2 separate regions of the Homo sapiens genome follow, and region 1 is linked to region 2. Evidence: promoter capture Hi-C in human tissues and cell types (Jung and others, 2019). All regions are on one chromosome and are shown on one strand. Each heading gives the region's core, a stretch centred on a gene start or on the middle of the fragment in contact. The rest is flanking DNA. Distances are from core to core; before and after follow the strand shown.

Region 1 (2,700 bases), core at 43-2,542, 180 kb before region 2:
GACTTTGTCAGAAGCTGTTGTCTATTCTTTGTCATACTCCAAAGAGTTTCCAAAGAGTATAATTTACAAACTATGGTAGGTTCTTTGGGCCCATTCAACTCTCCTAAAAATAATTTCCTATTCCTCAAAATTGCCTACATTCCGCCATCTCTCTCTCTCCTGTGAAGAAGGGCATATAGATTCTGAACCTCACTGGGTTACTGGGAAGTCACTCTCTCATCATTCCCCCATGAATACAATAAACTTGCCTTTTTCTGCAGCTAATCTTCCATCGGTTAATTTCGGCAAACTCAAACCTTAAAGGGAAAGGGAAATTCCCCTTTACCCCTACATATGCAAATTAATTATTTAGATTAATAATTGCTAGATATAAAATTGGCATATGGTTTATTTATTTTTATATTTCAGCACAGGGGAGGGAAAAATGACTTCCTTCCACCCTCTTAGGTTTTTTGTGGCTGGGCTACAAGTTAAATTACATAAGACGGATTAACACAAGAAAAACTGTATTAAATTATGTGTGTATACATAGGAGTCCCACAAAAATATAAGACTCAAAGAAAGGCCAGATGAATAAAGCTTATATAGCATCTTAAGCTACAGAAAGAAACAGAGGCTTGGGGCTTCTGGAGAGTGGTGGTGCAAGTTACCGGAGCGTGAGAGGAGGAAACATATAGTAAATACATGGTAAATAAAGGTTGCCTTGTTATGCAGATAAGAGTCTCTCAGGGGATAAAAATTGCCTTGGAGCAGCTCTCTTCCTGATCAAAAACACCTTTACCAGTGAAAATTTCTTTTATAGATCTAAATTTCTTTTACAAAAGGGCAGCTTTTCAGAGCTAACTCCTGTGCGGGCAGTTTCTCTAAATAAATAGTTAATAATCAATATGCTAGAGAGGAATATTTTGGAGTGATGTGTTCTGAGCCCTAACCCCAGCAACAGGCAGAAACTGAAATGTTAAAATGATTCAATTTGCAATACTATTAAAAATATTAAGTTCATAAGGAGAAAAACTAGGAAAAGATAAACAAGAACTTTATGGACAAAAGTACAAAACTTTATTGTGAGACATTAAGGTAACCAGAGAGTTAGAGCATGTTTATAGATTGCAAGACTCACTAATTTAGATACATCAATTTTTCTGCAAATTGACCTATAGATTTGTAATTGCCTGATGGGTTCTTCCTGCCTGCTGCACAGACAAAATCAGTTCACTGAGACCATGGCATTGCAGTAAAGAAAGGGTTTCATTGACACAAGACTGGCAACGAGGGAGACAGAGTTATTACTCAAATCAGTCTTCCTGCAGGCTTGGAGGTTAGGGGTTTGCGAGGATAGTTTGGTGGGCAGGTGGCTAGAGAATGGGTGCTGCTGATTGGCTGGGAATGAAATCATATAGGTGTGAAAAACAATCCTCGTGGGCTGCCTCGTGGGCTGAGTCTGCATCTGGGTGGAACCACATGACTGGTTGAGTTATGAGCCCTGGTTCCATAGGTTGCCAGAATGCAAAAATCTGAAAAAACATCTCAAAAGACAAAACTCAGGTTCCACAGTAGTGATGTTACCTATAGGAGCAATTGGAGAAGTGACAAATCTTGTGACCTCTGGTCACGTGACCCTTGAGCAGTAAGGGATTATAGAAAATACATTTCATCAGAATTCAGGAGCCTCTCATAATCCTAACCTTGCAGCCTTTCACTAGTTTTACAGAGTTTTGGGAAAGGCTACTATCATCCTCACTTTACAGTTGAACTATAAACTAAATTCCACCTGATGTAGGTTGGCCTATGCCCAGGAATGACCATGGACAGCTTGGAGGTTAGAAGCAAGATAAAGTCAACTATGTCAGATTTCTCTTACTGTCAAAATCTTTGCAAAGGCAGTTTCAGATTCAGTACAATTCCAATCAAATTCTCAACCCAGTTTTTGTTTGTTTAGTTTGGGAACTTACTGATTCTAGAGGATATATAGATGTATAAGAATAGCAAAGACACCTTCAAAAAAAACAAACTAAAAAACAAGGTGAGAGAGTTTGTTCTACCAGAGTACATATAAAATAGAAAACAATATCTTGTTACATAAAAGCCTAGTATTGCTCATTGACAGGTAGCCTTGTTCCATGTATCATTCAGAGACACAGATTACTTCCATCTTGTGGTTCTGTCATTTCCTCATCCATTTAATGTAGCTGGCAAACAGAATAGAAGGTGGAGAAGCACACTTTCTCAACTGCGTTGGCCATTTTTCACTGGCATGGCCTTCAAGTGGGAACTATAGTTCCTACCTGAGCTGTCGCTTCTCAGCATCAACCCTACACCATGCAAGAGTGAGCATAAGCCTGAGGGCAGCTAGTTACTACAGCCACAGCAATGTAAATGGTGTTGCCAGTTTCCTCTTTGTCACAGATAGGACAAGAATAGATGCAATACAGTTAAATATGAAAGTAGAGAGAAATCTAACACAGAGTTTCCCAAAAATGAGTTAGATAAGACCCAGGAACTTGTGCAAACTCTCATCAGTGATCGACACCATGTCAACAAACTTGCAAGGAGAAAGAAAGGTCAATCCCAAAACTGGACCAAAAACACTTTATCTCCTTATTAGAAAACAATGGCAACATTAATAATACTACACTGCAATATCATATTTAGATGTATGGGCCAGAGAAGTGGGACGTGGACATTAAAAATGAGTCCTAG
Region 2 (2,700 bases), core at 40-2,539:
CACGGGAAAGTGTAAAAGAATTCACCTTCTTGCTCTAAGAGGAGACTTTCTCTTAAATGTTTTTAGAAGGGTCTGAAGAAATTAAGGCAATGAGCACACACCACCTAAAACCACAAACAGAGACACACTCACTCTGCTCTGCTCCTATGGGAAACTCTTTCCTCTTTCCTTTTTAGCTTGGCGCCAGCCCAAAGGGATGGGTTGAACATCAGGAAGCTCTTAGCCCCAGCTCTGCCACTCACTCGGCGGCCTTGGAAAGAGTACTTGCCCTTGCAGGAACTCAAGCTCCCTCATCTTTAAAATGAGGGAGTCAACTGAGATGAACTCTAAGGTCCCTTCCAGCCCTGACCCTCTATCCTTCCAAGACATTCTCCAGCAGGGCAAAATGTCAGGCATGGAAAGAACCCAACTCGCCATGCTGCTTTGACAGCTGGAGCTGCGATCCCTTCACTAGGAGTGATCATTTTTTCTAACTTCAGTGAGAAACTGGGCCACAGAATGGGGAGGAATGCATTTGACTCCACGACCTTAATAACAACTCTTTCAGGGACACCTAAGCTAGTCCAGCAGAGTGGGGTATTGACCTTTCACATGTTTTTCTTCAAGATTTAGTTTCTCTTAACCGGGCGCGGTGGCTCACGCCTGTAATCCCAGCACTTTGGGAGGCTGAGGTGGGTGGATCACCTGAGGTCAGGAGTTCAAGACCAGCCTGACCAACATGGAGAAACCCAGTCTCTACTAAAAATAGAAAAAATTAGCTAGGCGTGGTGGTGCATGCCTGTAATCCCAGCTACTTGGGAGGCTGAGGCAGGAGAATTGCTTGAACCTGGGAGGCAGAGGTTGCAGTGAGCCAAGATCGCGCCATTGCACTCCAGCATGGGCGACAAGAGCGAAACTCCATCTCAAAAAAAAAAAAAGATTTAGTTTCTCTTTGTGATTTCTCACAGTCTCAGAAAAGATACCTGGGAGTGTGGGAAGAATAGGAGTTAGGGAACTTGAGAGGTCCTGGTTAAAATCTTGTATTTGACACGCTCTAGCTGTGGGATAATAGGAATTTTCTTAACTTTCCTGAGCCTCATTTTATTCATATATATATATATATATGTGAGAAGGTAATCATACCCATAAAACTATTGTGAGAGGTAAAGAAGGTAAGTGTTTATTAGAGGCACAAAAAGGCACATTATCTGCTGGTACTAAACAATAGAATGCCAGGGGTGTTCAATATCTTAGGCTGCACATTGCCCTGCAATAACTGGCTTAGGGTATGAAATTCTTAGAAGGACTAACAAGACTCCCCCATGATGACCTATTCATCCACCTACCTCCTCACTCTGTTCCACTGTCTCCCTTAAGAGAGATGGCACCGGCCAGAGCAGGATGCTGCCCCCTGCTGCTGCTGCTTCTGGGGCTGTGGGTGGCAGAGGTCCTAGTCAGAGCCAAGCCCAAGGACATGACATCATCTCAGTGGTTTAAAACTCAGCATGTGCAGCCCAGCCCTCAAGCATGCAACTCAGCCATGAGCATCATCAATAAGTACACAGAACGGTGCAAAGACCTCAACACCTTCCTGCACGAGCCCTTCTCCAGTGTGGCCATCACCTGCCAGACCCCCAACATAGCCTGCAAGAATAGCTGTAAAAACTGCCACCAGAGCCACGGGCCCATGTCCCTGACCATGGGTGAGCTCACCTCAGGGAAGTACCCAAACTGCAGGTACAAAGAGAAGCACCTGAACACACCTTACATAGTGGCCTGTGACCCTCCACAACAGGGTGACCCAGGGTACCCACTTGTTCCTGTGCACTTGGATAAAGTTGTCTAAGCCCTGGTGCCCACGTTCCACCTCACACTCTGCAGACTGTATGCTGCTGCTTTTCCTCCCTCCAGTTCGTTATTAATCCTTGCTCCCCACTGCAAATGCCATTTCCCTCCCACACACTCAACCTCACATACTCTTGGTTTCTTAGGGAGTTTTACAGACGCTCCAAACGATGAAAGAAGAGGGCAGATTCTCTTCAGCCTTTCATTGTAGCTTACTTTGCAGCCCTTCCAGAGTCAAGCACTCAGGATCCCCACAAGGATGGATCTGGGTTTGGTGAGGCCTGTGGCTCACCAAAGACCCTCTTAAAGAAAAAGAATATAAAATTACAAACGTAAATAAGTCAGATCCTTGGAAGGGCTGTGGCTGGACAGTCCAGGGAGATCCCAGACAGGGGTAATTATCTAAGGAAGGAAGGAAGGGGAATCTCTGCTGTGTTCCCTGTGTTGGGCAAAGAAATGCATCTGATCTTGCTGTAATAAAGACTCTGCTGTTGCTGATGGAGTGTGTGTTACTGTCTTGGGGTAAGTGGAGAGGTTTGGAGCTCCAATTCCAAGGCCCTGAAAAGGCCCTGAAACACTTACTTCTGTGAGGCATCAGCTCCACCTGCCTTGCAGGCCGGAGGGAGAGCAGCACCCTGAGCAGGCACAGTCTGGGAAGCTGGCTTGATTCTGTCCTCCAGCCCCTTGAGGGCTCTCTGGTGGCCCCCTCTCATGTGAAGGGGTAGAGTGACAGGAAGGACAGGCTGAGCCCTGGGATGCCAGTCAGGTCTGAGGCCTGACCCCCTTGTGTGTGCGCAAGACCAGAGTTCATGTTTCATCGACGTGACCCAGAGCAGGACCCTCAGCGTTCTGGAGTGAACTTCCCTCCTTGGGGAA

What was found. The method cuts DNA at HindIII sites, captures the fragments that hold promoters and counts their contacts. A contact is called where the count stands out against the background at its distance.
Region 1: a contact is called between a fragment that was not itself captured here and the fragment with the promoter of RNASE8 in region 2, in 1 of the 25 tissues and cell types used here (spleen).

What each region holds. Positions count from the first base shown.
Region 1 is chr14:20,877,288-20,879,987 of GRCh38, forward strand. The region is part of intron 1 of LOC100507513 (a long non-coding RNA gene); the gene reads right to left. Among named protein-coding and RNA genes, the nearest start is that of RNASE3, 13 kb to the right of the region's middle. The HindIII fragment of the contact is 3,417 bases long and covers 1-2,700 here.
Region 2 is chr14:21,056,533-21,059,232 of GRCh38, forward strand. It overlaps RNASE8 (ribonuclease A family member 8), which reads left to right and starts at 1,290. Exons shown (of 1, transcript NM_138331.2): 1 at 1,290-1,923. The coding sequence starts at 1,361. The coding sequence ends at 1,825. It also overlaps a transcript of NDRG2 not described here. The HindIII fragment of the contact is 9,179 bases long and covers 1-2,700 here.